6 separate regions of the Homo sapiens genome follow, and all the other regions are linked to region 2. The links are contacts of gene promoters, found by promoter capture Hi-C in human tissues and cell types (Jung and others, 2019). All regions are on one chromosome and are shown on one strand. The core of a region is centred on a gene start or on the middle of the fragment in contact, and the rest is flanking DNA. Distances in the headings are between cores, read along the strand shown.

Region 1 (2,700 bases), core at 109-2,608, 590 kb before region 2:
AGAACAACTCCATCTTGAATAGGGGCTCGGTAAAATAAGACTGAGACCTACTGGGCTGCGTTCCCAAGAGGTCAGGAATTCTAAGTCACAGGATGAGACAGGAGGTTGATAGAAGATACAAGTCATAATAAAGACCTTGCTGATAAAACAGCTTGTGGTAAAGATGCTGGCCAAAACCCACCAAAACCAAGATGGTGACAAAAGTGACCTCCAGTCATCTTCACTGCTTACTATATGCTAATTATAATGCATTAGCATGCTAAAAGACACTCCCACCAATGCCAGGACAGTTTACAAATGCCATGGCAAGGTCAGGAAGTTACTCTGTATGGTCTAAAAAGGGGAGGAACCCTCAGTTCTGGGAATTGCCCACCTCTTTCCCAGAAAACTCACTAATAATCCACCCCTTGTTTAGAATATAATCAAGAAATAACTGTAAGTATCCTTAGTCCAGCAGCCCACACTGCTGCTCTGCCTATGGAGTAGCCATTCTTTTATTCCTTTGCTTTCATTTTACCCTATGGATTTGCCTCAACTTCTTTCTTCAGCCAGATCCAAGAACCCTCTCTTGGGGTCTGGATCAGAACTCCTTTCAGGTAACACCATGGTATTTCCCTCTTTCGGGGGAACCAGGATTCAATGTAAAAGTGGGAACCAGGCATGGTGGCTCATGCCTGTAATCCCAGCACTAGGGGAGGCAGAGGTGGGCAGATCACCTGAGCTCTGGAGTTGGGAGACCAGCCTGGGAAACATGGCAAAATACTCTCTTTACAAAAATACAAAAGCTAGTCAGGCGTGGTGGTGTGTGCTTGTAGTCATAGCTACTTGGGAGGGTGAGGTGTGAGAACTGTTTGAGCCCGGGAGATGGAGGTTGCAGTGAGCCAAGATCACGCCACTGCACTCCAGTCTGGACAACGGAGTGAGACCCTGCCTTAAAAAAAAACAAAAACAAAAAGTGGGGTCCTTGATTTTTTTTAAGACGGGGTTTTGCTATGTTGCCCATGCTGGTCTCTAACTCCTGGGCTCAAGAAATCTGCCTGCCTCGGCCTCCCTGAAGTGCTGGGACTATAGGTGTGAGCCACCATACCAGGCCCTTGATTTTTATGCTGGGCCTTCCAGCTATGCCTGCTTTTCAAATATTTAAATACTAGGCCCTGAAAACTGCAAATGCTTTATTTGCCCAGTTCATTAAAGGGCTCCAACTTGAAGTCAGTAATCTAATTAAAAAACAAGCTAAGTTGAAAAGGACACCTATCAAAATAAATCAGTCTCCAAAATACAACTTTCTGACATTTAGCTGCTTATTTTGAAATCCTCTGTCAGAGAAATTTACACCTATAAAGGAAATTACCATTTTTAAGGGTATCTTCGCCCCTGCACCTAAACCACTAAAATATTATCTTCACATTCCTGGAATCTGTGATATAAAGAACAATGGACAATCAATAGTTTATTATTATTATTATTCTCATTGAGAGAGTCTTGCTGTGTCCATCCAGGCTGGAGTGCAGTGGCGTGATCTTGCTTACTATAACCTCCGGCTCCCAGGTTCAAGTGATTCTCGTGCCTAAGCCTCCCCAGTGGCTGGGATTACAGGCATCCGCCACCACACCTGGTTAATTTTTATATTTTTAATAGAGACAGGTTTCACCATGTTGGCCAGGCTGGTCTGGAATTTCTGACCTCAGGTGATCCGCCCGCCTCGGCCTCTCAAAGAGCTGGCATTAAAGGTGTGAGCCACCATACCTGGCCAATAGTTACATTATTTTAATGCCAATTTTTGGTAAACAATTTAAGAACTGTCTGTTCTTTTTTCCTTTACAAATCCACTTGTAATTGCTGCTAATCAGAGTACCTATATAGGACAACTTCAATCTATGACTTGGTCTTCTAAATATATTCCCAGTGTAAACCCTAAAGGAAAAAACTTAGGCAAAATTAATATAAGTACAGAGTTTATTTGCAGGAGCAATTTGGATTTGTTAATAGATTGGATATGGGAGAAGAAAACAAAGAATAGCATCAAAAATAACCCCAAGGATAATCTGACCAGCCAGAAGGAAAGTAGTGCCATTTAGTGAGTGGAGAAGGGGAGAGAAGCAGGCTTGGCGTGAATATCAGTTCCTTTTGAGTATATTAAGTCTGAAATGCTTATGAGACATCAGATTCCACATGGCGAGAACATAGTGGCCACGGGTCTGGAGTTCAAGAAAGAAGTCTGAAAAACTAAGATAACAATCTGAGAGTCAGCAGCATAATTAAGTCATGAAACACAATGAGATCCCCAAGGGTGTGACTGTGGCTGACACAAAGTGTCAGAAGAACTGAGTCCTGGGATCCTCAGGCGCGAAGTGCTGAATAATGAGTGAAGTAGGAAGAATATGGTATTCTGGAAGCAAAAGCAGGGCAATTTCAATAAGGAGCAACACTGAATCGCAATAACTCACATAAAGAGTTCTTCTATCATAAGCGGACCAGTGATGTCAGAAGGGGGCTACTAAGGCGGGGAAACCACAGTGGGTGATGTGCTAATGAAACCAGAGCTAACCTGATTAAGCCTGCCAAACTTAACCTGCCTTGTTTGCTGTATTAGGCCATTATTGTATTGCTATCAAGAAATACCGGAGACTGGGTAATTTATAAAGAAAAGACGTTTTAATTGGTTCACAGTTCTGCCAGCTTCATGGAAAGCATGGTGCT
Region 2 (2,700 bases), core at 145-2,644:
GTTCCCTATGTCCCTGCTTTCCTGTTCGCTGTGCTTCCCTCACTGAACTGGAGTGCCTCAGGGGCCCTGGCCTTGGCTGGCCCCTCTGAGTCACTGAGTCACTGCTGAGTGATGGAGTGGATGATTTTAGAATACCCCTCTGATCTCCTTGAGCCTCAGTTTCCTCATCTATAAAGAGGAGATGCTAATACCACTTAACAAGAAGACAATGAAGCCACCCCGTGGGCTCCAGGAGCTGCTCAGAAATGGTCCAAACTGCATGGCCCCCACGCCCGGCTCTCCAGCCGCAGACCCCGCCTTTGCTGATGGGCCCACACCGTGTGGCTCAGAGAGGGGCAGCGACTTGCCACGGCCACTCAGCAGACCGCCCTGGAGCCCAGCGACTGGATGAGTCCTGGGGGGAGAGGGGAGGGAAGACCCAGGATGACCAGCTGTTGAAGGAAGAAGACAGGGCAAGTGGACAGGCCCAGCCTCCTGCGGGGTGCATTCCCCGTCCTGCGAGGTCGCCAGCTGCTCCACGTCTGCCCCGCCAGCACCCTGGCTGCTGGCCAGTTCCCAGCCCGCTGCCCCCTCGGGACCCTGTCCTGCCGCCTTCTCACAGCGCAGTCCCAGTGCGAGCTTCGCGGGGCTGGAGCCAGCTTCTAGGTCCACACTGAGGGCTGGCAAGCAAGCCTTCCCTGGGACTCAGTTTCCCCACCCCTAAGGGGTAGAGACAGCACCAAGGCTACTGCAGAGGGCCTGAGCTGTGGGATGGCAGGACGGGCACTCTGAAGAGGGAGCATGGCGCTTGGAGCCCATGCCCACAAAGCCCTCACCATGGCCCTGCCCCAGCTGCGGGGTGGTGGTGGCTGAGGCCCCAGAGCCTGCCAAGTGCCTCTGGGGTCCCCCAACTCTGTCCCTGGCTTGGCCTGTGGGCCACCCTGCTGCCTTGCCAGGTGGGGAAACCAAGACCCAGCTCTGGGCACCCAGCAGATGCTCGGTGAGTGTTGAACGGAGGGATGAATGAGTGAATGAATGAAATCCAGAGTTGGGTGGGCACCTAGCAGCGCAGCTCCCCCTTATGCAGCCAGCCCAACTCACGCCCATGTTCTCCCTCAGGTCTCTGTTTTCTCATCTGAGAAATGGCTCCCTGTCCAGCAGGACCTGCTCTGAGCTCTCCCCAGCCCGGATCTGGAGGCAGTTTCTCTGCCCTGCCCTTCCCACTCCTGCTTGGCTGGGGGTGAGAACCCCTGCAGGGAGCAGCTCAGGAGCCTCCTATCTAGGGAAGCTGGGGAGAGGGAGGCTGGGGCCAGCCCACAGGGGAACTTACCGCGCTTCACCCGGGCAGGCTGGAGATGGGAGTCCTCAGCTCTCAGCTCTGCATGCAGCCCGGACCTCGCCTTCCTACGGCCTGACGTCAGGCCAGCGCTTGGGGCTCCTTTTGGGCAAAGGCAGGGTGGGGGCGGGGCAGGCTCCTTCCCCGCCCCCAGGAGGAGTCAAGGCTCAGAGCCTGAGGGACGGTGCCTGGGGCACCAGAGTCCCCACACCCACTGGAGACAGAAGAAGAAACCGAGGCACAGAGGGGCCTGGGGCACCAGAGTCCCCACACCCACTGGAGACAGAGGGGGAAACTGAGGCACCGAGGAGCTGAGCCTCAGCTGCACCATCCAGGAGGTGGTGGCTGGCACTTGTGTGTGCCGTGTGCAGGGCAGGAGGTGGGAAACTGAGGCACGGAGGGGCTAAGCCTCAGCTGCACCATCCAGGAGACAGTGGCTGGCACTTGTGTGTGCTGTGTGCGGGGCAGGAGGGGGAAACTGAGGCACGGAGGGGCTGAGTCTCAGCTGCACCATCCAGGAGATGGTGGCTGGCACTTGTGCGTGCTGTGTGCGGGGCAGGAGGGGAAAACTGAGGCACAGAGGGGCTGAGTCTCAGCTGCACCATCCAGGAGACGGTGGCTGGCACTTGTGTGTGCTGTGTGGGGGGCAGGAGGGGGAAACTGAGGCACGGAGGGGCTGAGTCTCAGCTGCACCATCCAGGAGATGGTGGCTGGCACTTGTGCGTGCTGTGTGCGGGACAGGAGGTGGGAGCACACGAAAGCCCAATTTCCTTCCCGGGAGGGGGCATGTGCATGGTAGCTTCAGCCCACGCAAGCCTGGGTTCCTGCATGGCTCTCTGTTTTGCATGTGTCCTGGGTTTGGCTGTGTCTGTGTGTACCCATGACCGACAGCCTGCACACCTGGCATCTGGGCCTCTGTTTGCACCCATGCACCGGTGGCATGTGGCATGTGGGGTCAGGTGTGTGGGAAAGACCTGGACGTGACCCAGGCCAGCAGGTGGGGAGAGCGTGTGGGACCCGGACCTCAGTGCTGGAGGAAGCGTGAGCTCATCAACAGGCTTGATCCCAGAGGGCTGCTGGAGGGCCACTCTCCCCAGACAGCTTCAGAGCCAGGAGGCCTTGTGGCCAGCCTGGGGTGGCAGCGGGGGTTGTCGGGGAGCGGTTGGGGCCATTTAGTTAGTGTCTCCTCTGCCGAGAGCACCATCTCCTCTTGTTCCCATCCCGTGTGCTTCTGCTGATACTCACACTTTAACCTTCCAGCCGCCTGAGTGCCGAGGCCCTGCTGAGTGGGTTGTACTGCACACCGGAGACTCAGGGAAGGCTCCCCAAGGGAGGGGCTGGGCCTTCCCGAGCTCAGGCTGGTTGTAATGCAGACCAACAGGAGA
Region 3 (2,700 bases), core at 78-2,577, 700 kb before region 2:
TTCTGTCTCAGAGAGGGTCAGAAAGACTTCACAGAGAGAATTTGTCTGAATTTGGCCTATACTGTAAAAGTAGGCTGGCTTCAACTGTGAAAGCCACACCTAGTTGATCTTTATTTGGCAGGACTTGGCAAGAGGGATAAGAGATTTTTAAGAAGGAGAATGACAAAATCTAGAGAGATATTCTAGAAAGATGGCTCTTGGCGGCAATGTGGAGGCTGAATGGAAGGGCAGGGGAACAGACAAGAGGCAGATAAACCATCTAAGAGGCCATCTTCAGAGGAGAGGTGATGGTGGATGTGCAGGTGAACGGACCAACCTGAGACCTGATGAGAGATGGAAGGTGTGTGGTTGTTTGCATGTGTGTAGGGGATTGGGAACAGACATGCAAGTGCATGGTGTTGTCACTGACTGTGGAAGCAAACAAGGAAAGCAGACCGTTCTTGCCAATGGCAGACAGTTGGAGATCAGAGCTCAGGGCGGGGTTCTATAAAATCAACACAGATTTGGGAGGCATCAAATACTTGAATCTATGAGAATGAGAAGAACTACCAGAGTGAAAAAGTATTTTTTAATAAAACAAGTGGGTAGCACTTTGGGAGATGACCACACTCAAGGGTGGCAGGGAACAAAAGCCTGAGCAGAGGTCTTGGCAGGAGAGGAGTGAGTGAGGAAGCTCTGGGCCAGAGCAGGGGGTCTCAAGGGGGAGTTAGGACTGAGGGGAAAGCAGGGGCTCTGGCAATTAGGAGACCTTGAAGGGCTGTTACAGCAGAGAGAGTTCCAAACAGCTGGAGCACTGGAATGCTCTGAGCTGGCGCTGAGTGCAGCTGCCATGTGAGGAGGTGGCCCCATCAGGGATGGGCTGCTCTTTCAGGAAGTACAATGGGGACAGGAGGAGGCATGAGGACAGTGAAAGGCAGATGCAGGATCAAAGACAGGCTCCTCTTCTTTTCAAAAATGATTTAAGGCCAGGTGTGGTGGCTCACGCCTGTAACCCCAGCACTTTGGGAGACCGAGGTAGGAGGATGGCTTGAAGCAGGAATTTGAGACCAGCTTGGGCAACACAGTAAGACACTGTCTCTACAAAAAAATAAAGAATTAGCTGGGCGTGGTGGTATACAACTGTAATCCCAGCTACTTGGGAGGCGGAGGCAGGAAGATCACTTGAGCTCAGGAGTTGGAGGTTATAGTGAGCTGTGATGGAGTCACTGCATTCCAGCCTGGGTGACAGAGACAGACCCTGTCTCAAAAAAAAAAAAATTAATAATTAAAAAATACTGTATACAGGAGAGCAATTTGTGTATTGGAATCAGGGGAGATGAAAAGATTACTTTAGACTTTATCAACTAGAGTAGGTGTTGACAAATAGTCCCACTAAAATATCCACTTGGTAGGACACCATTTTCTTGCCTCTAGCATATGGAACTTCTCCACTTTGGGGCAAAACTGAGGCTTGTCATGGAAAGCCAGAGGCCCGGTGAAGCAGGTAAGTGAGAGAACCCCATTTGGTTGGGATGTGAAGTTACACTACAGCACCAGTCACAGGCCTTCTCAAAAACAAGTTAAAGGGTTTATGCATATGAATCAATGCCACTTACAAAGGAATCACCAACAGGAGTTGTGTCCAACCGTCCTTCAGAAGTCAATGTCCAGTTGGTCAACTGGAACATCCCCTGGACATCGTATGTCTCTGGGTATGATGCTGAGAAGGATTCAGCATTATTTATGTTGTATTCCTGACTGGAGATGCAAAATCTCAATCTCATCAGGAAGAAACAAATGTTTATAGGATATCCCTCAATCCAACTTTAAGAATACTCTATAAAATCACTGAGCCTATGTTTGTCAAAAATGTCAATGTCATGAAAGATAAAAAAAGGCTGAGGAGCTGTTTCAGATGAAAGGAGGCTGAAGAAAGCAACACCACGTGCAAAGTGTAATCCTGGTCTGGCTCTCACAGGCGACGGAAAAGTGCTACAGAGACAACCGACGACCCTGGAACGTGCCCTGCAGAGTGGGACAGTGCATTACATCATGTTAAAGTTCCAGAATGTGGTGATTGTGTGGTGGTTATGTAGGACAATGGCCTTGTTATGAGAAATATAAATGGAAATCTTAAAGGGGAAGAGGGCATGAGATACACAGCCATTCTCAAGCTGCTCGACAGCAGGAAGTGATGTGTGTACACACATAGACAATGGAGCAAGGTGACAATGTGCTGACATGTTAAAAGGCTGTGAAACTCAAAGGAAAGTTGGGAGTTCTCTCTATTAATCTTTTAACTTTCATATAAATCTGAAATGATTTCAAAATAAAAAGGACAAACAAAAAGTGTGTGCTGGGATGAAGAACTGCCCATGCTTCCCTAGAAATGAGAAAAGCAGGCAGCTGGAGTCAGCAGGGAGCAAGGCTGAAGCCTGCAGATCCTGGACTCTGTAGTGGGGACGCATCCCACATGCGTTTGTCAATCCCAACCACAGAATGTACACCCTAGGCTCAAAGACACTAAAACAAATGCAGGTGCTTCCTTTCATTTGTTAGTCATATAATTGAAACAAAATTGCCAAAAGGTAGCAAAAATGATAGTTGTTGCTGGGCTACAGTATTTTGGGTCAACTTTTATTCCTTAAAACTTTTTTTTTTGAAACAGGGTTTGCTCTGTCACCCAGGATGGAGTATGGTGGCTTGATCCTAGCTCACTGT
Region 4 (2,700 bases), core at 174-2,673, 570 kb before region 2:
AAGAACACTTGAAAAATGAGAAATTTTAATTATTTATTATATGTGTCATAATATTTTCCCCTGTCATCATAGCTTTAAAAATGTTACCTTGTACTAAACGAAACGTTTTAATTATGTAATTGTGTCGCTTCAGCAGCACATAAGTGTTTTAATTATGTAATTAAATGTAACAGTTCTATTTTTATGTCTTCTGGAATTTATGCCATGCTTAGAAGCATTCACTCCCTCCCTTGAAATGCACAGTATTCACCATCATTCTATACACAGAAAACCTACTTACAATTATGTAATTACAACTCTATATTACACTATACACTTTCCTCTGAAAAAATGTTACTACAGAATTTTACTAACACTGCAAAATTGATTGTATACTTTCTTTCAGGTAAGGTGTAGGTTAGATAATGCCCTACAGAAAGGGCCAAGGTTATGCAGACTGTGGTGGAATGCAGTCCAGGACAATTTGGCTTGTGGCTCTTACTATGTTCTCCCCAGGAAAATCACCTTTTATTTTTATTTTTTAAAATTAATTTATTTTTTTTAGATACAGTCTTGCTATGTGGCCCAGGATGGTCTCAGATTCCTGGCCTCAGGGATTCTCCTGTGTAGCTGGAATTACAGACATGAGCCACTATGACAAGGTAACATCCCTTTTAAAAGCACTTTATAAATCCAAAGTAACTATGGTAGATCAAAGAACTAACAAAATGCATCTGGGCACACCCAATTCACATGTAGAATGTACTGATCACTTATTACTGTCATGCTATGTTATGCATATACATGTATACATGTATAAGTAGTTTATGATCTAGAGAAGACAGATGGGCATATATAATTATTATTTAAAGCATGTTTCCAGGAAAACGGTACATTAGAGTTGCAGAAACATGTTTAACATTTGAACTCTTAAAAAATCTCAATTAAAAAATGTACATGTGCTGTGTTCACATGTATTTTTGACTATAATCCACTAAAGATGTTTGACTTTAATATTATTTTAACTAGGCAATGTATCTTCACCTTAGGGATCTATGATGAAATAGTTATATAATACATAAACATGCTATGATTGAGAATAAGAAAATTACCAAGTTTAATAATTCATTTTATAAAGACAATATAAAATTGGAAACAACCAATGCCCTATCTAGCTTTTCATGACAAGCATTTTCATTAATGCTCTTTTCATATGAACAAAGAGCTTAAAAAGCATCGCATTTCATGTTTGATATCCAAATGTTTCTCCCTAGAGAGCAAAAAACGCTAGCTAATAGTGAAATCAACACAGGAAGATGTTTACGTTTTAAACATGGAAGGCTCATTTAATGCCTGACATCCGAATGTTATTTTTAAATGTGTATGTCAAGGACCTTTTGGTAAACTGAAGATAAAAGATGAAAAATTATTCACTAAAAAGGAAATGGGCAATCTATTACATTTAACATTTTTCCTAAATTACTATCTTTATGTAAAGAAATTATCTGAAAACATTTAAATAATATTTGTAAGGCATATACTCCTGTTTAAAGTATAAAGTGCGACACTGGAAGAAGAAAACGTCAAAAATAAAAATAAAAAATAAAGCACAAAGTGAAAAATCAAGACCTATAGCTGCAAAGGCTTTAACTGAGAGTAACTGTAGAGATTTCTGAAAGCAACTTCATTACTCTATTTTATACAAAGAAAACTTAGGAAAAATATATGAATAGGCTTATTGGTGTGATCACCGTGGGAAAACACTTTTCCTTTAGAAAAGCCATGTCCTGGAATCACACAGATTTATGTTTACTTAGCGAAGGCTCATGGCTTCAGCTGCTGTTTTCAGGGCACAGCACCATCAGTTACCTCTTTTGAGATACATAAATAAAGGGTCCAATGACTCCTCTCTATAAAACACACAACACTCACATGTACCTCCCATGCAAACACCATGCCTTCCTCAAACTGCTTTGTAAACAGAGCACTTCCCTGCTGGGCAAGGCTGGATCCTCTGCGTTTCTATCTGCTTCACTTGACCTTTGGCCTTTTCTCTATCCTCATCGCTGTTTAATACAATTCTGCTGACTTGAATGCACTCCACACAGCACTTCAGGACTTTTTTTCCTCTATAATCATCCTAGTCACTGAGGTGAGTGCTAGAAGGGGTATTGGCAAAACCCACATTCAGAGTCCCCACTTCCACAGCGTGAGCTGCTTTACAGTTACTCCTTGGGAGGTGTCTAACAACCCTACAAAATAGGTATCATTCTTTTACAGATGAGGTATCTCAAAGTCTAGGCTGATACAGTGTCAAGATCAGACTCAACTAGTAGCAACAACAGGAACAACAATACAACTAAAATCTAGGAGCATCAAGTGTGCCAGGCATAGTTCCAAGCCTATAAATAAGTCCTTTATCCTCCTAATACCATAGAAGACAGTTACTGTTCTTCGTGTTTGACCAGATGACAGAACTGAGGCTCAGAAAAGTAATTTATAGATGGTGTCACAGAGGACTCATGATTTGAACTTAAGTCCCATAATTCCCAAACTCAGTCTTTCCCTGCTTCACACTATGTATGCTATTATCCTGCTGGGAATATTTTCATTTGATTCTTTCAGAAATCCAAATCCTCAAAAGCATTCCTCATTATATGCTTGCAAAAACTCCACACCGCTTTTATAGTGACGTTTCTAGGATATTTATTCATTCTAATC
Region 5 (2,700 bases), core at 187-2,686, 740 kb before region 2:
CTGTCTCAAAATAAATAAATAAATAAATAAATTTTTAAAAATTCTAAAAACTAATAATAAACGCGCGACTCTGGGGCCACGGACTTTTTTGACAGATCAAACAGGAAGAGAAACACTGCACGAAACAGTAGGGGCCAGGCTCTGCCAGCCAATGTGTGACCTCGGCTCCGGCTGTCACTGCAGGCCTCCAGCACCTTCTCTTCTGTCCTGGGTCACTGTATGAAGACTAAGGATTCGTGGGGAATGTGCTGCTTCCCTTCAGCGCAGGCGCCCGTGCCCGGGGCCAGGTGGGAAGGCAGAAAAGTCACTGTATGGGGGAAGTAAGGTTGGAGAGGATGCTAGTCATCCAGGCCAAAGTCCCCACTTAACAGGCGAGAAAACTGAGACCACACGAGGAGATGCGGACGGGGCTGCAGTTCTGACCAGACTCCTGTCTGTCCATCTCGATGACAGTGAGAAGATGAAAAAGGAGGGGGCCGGGCGCAGTGGCTCACACTTGTAACCCCAGCACTTTGGGAGGCTGCGGCAGGTGGGTCACTTGAATCCAGGAGCTCCAGAACAGCCCGGGCAACACAGGGAAACCCCGTCTCTCCACAAACTTAGCTAGGCACGGTGGTCCACAGCTGCAGTCTACCTGGGAGGCTGCCCAAAAGGGCTGAGGTGGAGCTCCGGAGCCCGGGGAGGTTGAGGCTGCAGTGAGCCATGACTGTGCCACTGCACTCCAGCCTGGGCCATGAGAGTGAGACCCTGTCAAAAAAAGAAAAGAAAAGAGGAGAGGGGAGGGGAGGGGAGCAGGGGGAAGAGGAGGGGAGGGGAGGGGAGCGGAGGCGAGGGGAGGGGAGCGGAGGGGAGAGGAGAGGAGAGAGGTGGGGCTTCCAGTTCCTGATCCAACCCACACAGCCCGGTTCCTGGCAGACCCAGGGAGGCCTGGCCCACCTCCCACACCCTGCTTCTCCCAGCTCACAACGGGGACACGCGTCAGCACCCTTTGGAAAGAACTACTGGCAACCTCAATGACACCACACTCACGCCCATCAGATTTTCTGAGGATTTCAGGAAGTGCAGTGCCATCAGGGGTGAACCAAGTTTAAAATGTTCCAGCCTGTTCATCTTTAAGCTACACACAAGCCCCAGATTTTAAAAACGCATTGAATCTGAGAGGCCGCCCGTCCACCCTGCTTTGCACGGACAGTTCTTGTGTCTGCCTTTCGTACCAGGGAAAGCTTACAGGTGCCCACTGCCCTGGAGGAAGCTCCCAGCACAAATGCTAAGTGTCTCCTCACCCTGGGTGCAGCTCTATGGAGACAGAAACTGGGAGGGCCTGGCGATTTGGTCACAACGTGTAAAGGACCAAGAACAAAGAGTGGTTTCAAGTTCCTAAACTTTTGGAGGAAAAAATTAGAATAGTGGCTACAGCGAACAAGTGCAGGCCCCTGACCGCAGCAGCAGGCTTGGGGCTCTCAATGTGTGGCGTGGGCCAGCAGATCCCCAGTGAGGAGGAGAGAGCAACCACAGGCAGCACAGAGCTGGCCACAAACGATAAGGGCAGAGATATGTGAAAGAGGGAGCCATTCCCAACCCAACACTGGGGAGAAAAGAATCCCTCTTATTTGAAATAACTGTAAGAGATAAACTGCACAAGAGCCTCCAGTTATCTTCCGTATTTGCCATAGGTCATACAGTGTCGCTTCTGCTGAAAGAGGACCACAAAAAGGATTCTGCTGCAACTGAAAACTCAAGATGCAAAGGGACCTGCCCCAACACTCTGCGTAACAGCCTGGGCAACATGTCAGGACTCCATCTCTAAAAAAGTAAAACACCTTCGCTGGGCATGGTGGCACATGTCTGCAGTCTCAGCTACTAGGGAGGCTGAGGTGGGAGGGCGGCTTGTGCCCAGGAGTTTGAGGCCGCAGTGAGCCATGACTGTGTAACTGCACTCCAGCTTGGGCAACAGAGAACAACCCCAACCCTCAGAAACAAACAAAACAAAACACCACTTAAATGTGTCAGAATTAAAACCATGAGCAACTGGGTCTCCAAACAGCCCCCCTCAACAAAACGGAGCCCAAAAAACAAAAATTTTGAGCAATGGGGCTCTTTCTAAAACCATTAAAGAAAAAACGGAGGGGGAGGGGAGGCACGAATGCTCTGAAGAAAAGAGATTTTAAAAGACGTAGGCCGGGCGTGGTGGCTCACGCCTATAATCCCAGCACTTTGGGAGGCCGAGGCAGGTAGATCACCTGAGGTTGGGAGTTTGAGACCAGCTTGGCCAACATGGTGAAACCCCATCTCTACCAAAAATACGAAAATTAGCCGGACATGGTGGCTTAGTCCCAGCTCCTCAGGAGGCTGAGGCAGGAGAATCGCTTGAACCCGGGAGGAGGAGGAGGTTGCAGTGAGCCAAGATGGTACCACTGCACTTCAGCCTGGGTGACAGAGCGAGACTCCGTCTCAAAAAAAAAAAAAAGAAAAAAAAGAAGACGTAAATATAACAAGTCAAATGCAGGGAGAAGAGAGAGGGTGGGCTAGCTTTAGAGGCGGAAGGCAGAGACCCAAATGTGTGTGTGAACTTTGGTTAAAATTCAGGATCCAAAGCACCCAACTGGAAACACACTTCTGAGAATATGAGAGAAATTGATCACAGACTGTTAACTGTCATAACGGCACTGGGGTATGTTCAAAACGTCTCCATTGCTTTAG
Region 6 (2,700 bases), core at 117-2,616, 610 kb before region 2:
TAAATAAAGAATTAATTACATAGTATGTTAGAAGGTAACCGTGTTACAGAAAAGGGAGAGAGCAGATCAGGATATGGAGACAGGGATGGAGGCTGCTGTATGAGGGGGACCTCACTGAGCAGATGAGACAAGAGCAAAAAAACTAAAGGAGGGAGGAGAGGGAGCTGGCTAAGAAACAGCAGGGAACAGTGTATAGCGTGCTCAAGGAACATGAGCAAGCCAGTGAGGCTGGCACAGAGGGTGGAAGGTAGGAGGGTGAAGATGACAGAGTCAGAGAGGAACGGAGGGGCCAGACCACACAGGGCCTTCAAGGCCAATAGAAAGATGCGACTTTTACTCAAGTGAAATGGAGAGCCAAGGTAGGGTTTGGACATTGGAGTACCATGGCCTGACCCAAAATTTTGAAGGAGCATTCTGCTGTGGTACTGAGAAATGGCTGCAGAGAGGCAAGGTTAGAGACACAGGGAGTTCTGCGGGTGGCTACCACAGTACCCCAGGTGACAGGTGACAGGTGATGGTGGCTTGGACAAACATGGTAGCAGTGGAGGTGGAGAGAAGGGCTGAGATTCTGGTTATACTCTGAAGCTAGGGCAAAGGTGGCTCATGATGCAGGTGTGAGAGAGTCAAGTTCAGGTTTTTGACCAGAAAAACTGACAAGATGGAAGGGGAAGATCAGAAGCTCGGCCTGGGATGTAATAAGCTTGAGATGTCAGTAAGATAGCCAAGTCACACAGGTGAAGTGACCAGCAGGATACTGTGACTGGCGTTCAAGAAAGAAATCTGAACTGGACATAGAAATCCAGAAGTAGCCTAGCCCATGTGACTGGACGAAATCACCAAGGGAGATGAGAGAGGTCCAAGGACTGTGCTTTGAAGCTCTCCAACATGAAGAGGTCAGGGACAAGAGTGGAAAATGTCAAAGGAGACTGAGAAGGGGTGACCAGGAAGGCAGGAGACAAACCAAGAAAATGTGTTGCTCTGAAAGCCAAAAAGTCATTATGCACACTTACTATTGTCTTTCACATTATATCATTTTATATATTATAATTATACATAACACAGAGATAATATTGTCATTTACATAACTACTGTCTATTCTCCATCACTAAAATGTAAGTTTCAAGACAGCAAGTAACTTGCCTGTTTTGTCAAAAAATCCCCATTAGTATAGCACTGATGCATACTATATGCTCAGTAAAGATCTGCAGAATTAATTAATGCTATTAATATATTTCTTTTAAATGAAGATGTTCATTAATAAGTTAGATGTGTCATATTTTAAAAATACCTTAAATTGTGTTTTGCTTAACAAGTTAGCTGTCGCATACTTTCAAAATACCTTAAATACCTTTATTTATTTTAGACTTCACACTAGTTGTATACTATGTGTTTCCAGGAAATAAAACATTTTCAAACAAGAGAAATCTGAATGGTAAGAGAACTGTATCATCGACTCAGGGACTGCATTCCCTTTCTTCACCTCCAGAGGAGGCATGCCCATGTGCCAGATGCCTCAAGGAAGGGGTTCAGGTGGTAATGGTGACGTGGTCCTTGGAGGACAGAGTAGTTGGCTCACACAGAATGTGAACAAGAGCACAGAATACCCTATCTACTAAATGTTTGAGTTTACAACCTTAGAATCATTAACCGTATCTGTGCTAAAATATAACCACTTTGCTTTGAATGAGTCAGTCTTGTCTTCCTTAATTAGACTGTGTACTTCTTTAGGACCATGACCATGAATTCTTTTTCTAGCTAAATATGAGGCTGGCTGCAAGTAACAGGTATACGAGAAAACTGTATGGCTGGTATACTGTAAAACTGACCGAAAATGTCCATTTTATAGACGATCAGAGCAACAAAATCTTTGATAAGACCTTAAAACCATCATTAATCCTGTCAACTAATCAAATACTCAGTAAACATGGTGCTTTATTAAGACAGTCTAAGGAAATGCAAACAAAATACTGCTCTTTAAAGACCTAGGGTTTCAAATGAATGCTAAGTGTAAGATTCCATAGCTGGCAAATATACAAAATGCCAACATGAGCAGATTATGAGGCTCAGCCTTCGGTTTGGCGAATAGGACATGCGGCTAGTGGCCCCTAAAGTGGACAGCAGAGGTCTAGGGAATGCTGAACTGTTAGAAGGGCCAGTTACAGAGATCGGACTGCTGGAGAATGGGTCAGTTCAAAGTAAGTAAGACCAGAACGTGTGCAAAGGGTTTTTTCTAAAAACTAAAAAGTTACTAATTGGTAATTACTCAAAATAGATTTTTAAAATCTTCGTAAAATACAGGCAATATTTAGGGAAAAGAGAAGTTTTTCATTGTTCAATGAAAATACCACCTTGTGGCCACTATGCCTAGACAAGGGATGCAAGATTAGGCTCTGAATTAATAACAGCTAGTAGACGTTTAAAATATCTTAACAAATAAATGTAGAAAAAAGCTATTCTAGGATGAATTAAGAGAAAATTAGATTTAATAACGGATTTTAAGGCTGCGAATAATAATGAGAGAATGTGCCAGTGATCAGCAGGTGCTTGAAGGAAAGAAAAAACAAGCCTGATAATCTTGCCTAATAAAGAAAAAAATGTGTGCCAATCAGATAAACTTCATGTTTACTGACTCTCAGAATGAAGGTCAAAATTCTTACCTCAAGGTTCACATGGCCCCACACATGTCCCCTGGTGGCTCTC

The links. The method cuts DNA at HindIII sites, captures the fragments that hold promoters and counts their contacts. A contact is called where the count stands out against the background at its distance.
Region 1: a contact is called between a fragment that was not itself captured here and the fragment with the promoter of GPR20 in region 2, in 2 of the 25 tissues and cell types used here (IMR-90 fibroblasts and spleen).
Region 3: a contact is called between a fragment that was not itself captured here and the fragment with the promoter of GPR20 in region 2, in 1 of the 25 tissues and cell types used here (lymphoblastoid cells).
Region 4: a fragment that was not itself captured here is called in contact with the fragment with the promoter of GPR20 in region 2 in 1 of the 25 tissues and cell types used here (lymphoblastoid cells).
Region 5: a fragment that was not itself captured here is called in contact with the fragment with the promoter of GPR20 in region 2 in 1 of the 25 tissues and cell types used here (spleen).
Region 6: a contact is called between a fragment that was not itself captured here and the fragment with the promoter of GPR20 in region 2, in 1 of the 25 tissues and cell types used here (dorsolateral prefrontal cortex).

Annotation. Positions count from the first base shown.
Region 1 is chr8:140,774,551-140,777,250 of GRCh38, forward strand. The region is part of intron 14 of PTK2 (protein tyrosine kinase 2); the gene reads right to left. Among named protein-coding and RNA genes, the nearest start is that of MIR151A, 43 kb to the left of the region's middle. The HindIII fragment of the contact is 8,167 bases long and covers 1-2,700 here.
Region 2 is chr8:141,365,892-141,368,591 of GRCh38, forward strand. GPR20 (G protein-coupled receptor 20) reads right to left here and starts at 1,395. Exons shown (of 2, transcript NM_005293.3): 1 at 1,310-1,395. RefSeq lists an enhancer at 2,158-2,700. The HindIII fragment of the contact is 55,577 bases long and covers 1-2,700 here.
Region 3 is chr8:140,661,053-140,663,752 of GRCh38, forward strand. The region is part of intron 35 of PTK2 (protein tyrosine kinase 2); the gene reads right to left. Among named protein-coding and RNA genes, the nearest start is that of AGO2, 27 kb to the left of the region's middle. The HindIII fragment of the contact is 5,799 bases long and covers 1-2,700 here.
Region 4 is chr8:140,797,303-140,800,002 of GRCh38, forward strand. The region is part of intron 12 of PTK2 (protein tyrosine kinase 2); the gene reads right to left. Among named protein-coding and RNA genes, the nearest start is that of MIR151A, 66 kb to the left of the region's middle. The HindIII fragment of the contact is 4,961 bases long and covers 1-2,700 here.
Region 5 is chr8:140,629,084-140,631,783 of GRCh38, forward strand. The region is part of intron 1 of AGO2 (argonaute RISC catalytic component 2); the gene reads right to left. Among named protein-coding and RNA genes, the nearest start is that of ERICD, 3.8 kb to the right of the region's middle. RefSeq lists an enhancer at 1,455-1,955. The HindIII fragment of the contact is 7,062 bases long and covers 1-2,700 here.
Region 6 is chr8:140,752,673-140,755,372 of GRCh38, forward strand. The region is part of intron 19 of PTK2 (protein tyrosine kinase 2); the gene reads right to left. Among named protein-coding and RNA genes, the nearest start is that of MIR151A, 21 kb to the left of the region's middle. The HindIII fragment of the contact is 3,965 bases long and covers 1-2,700 here.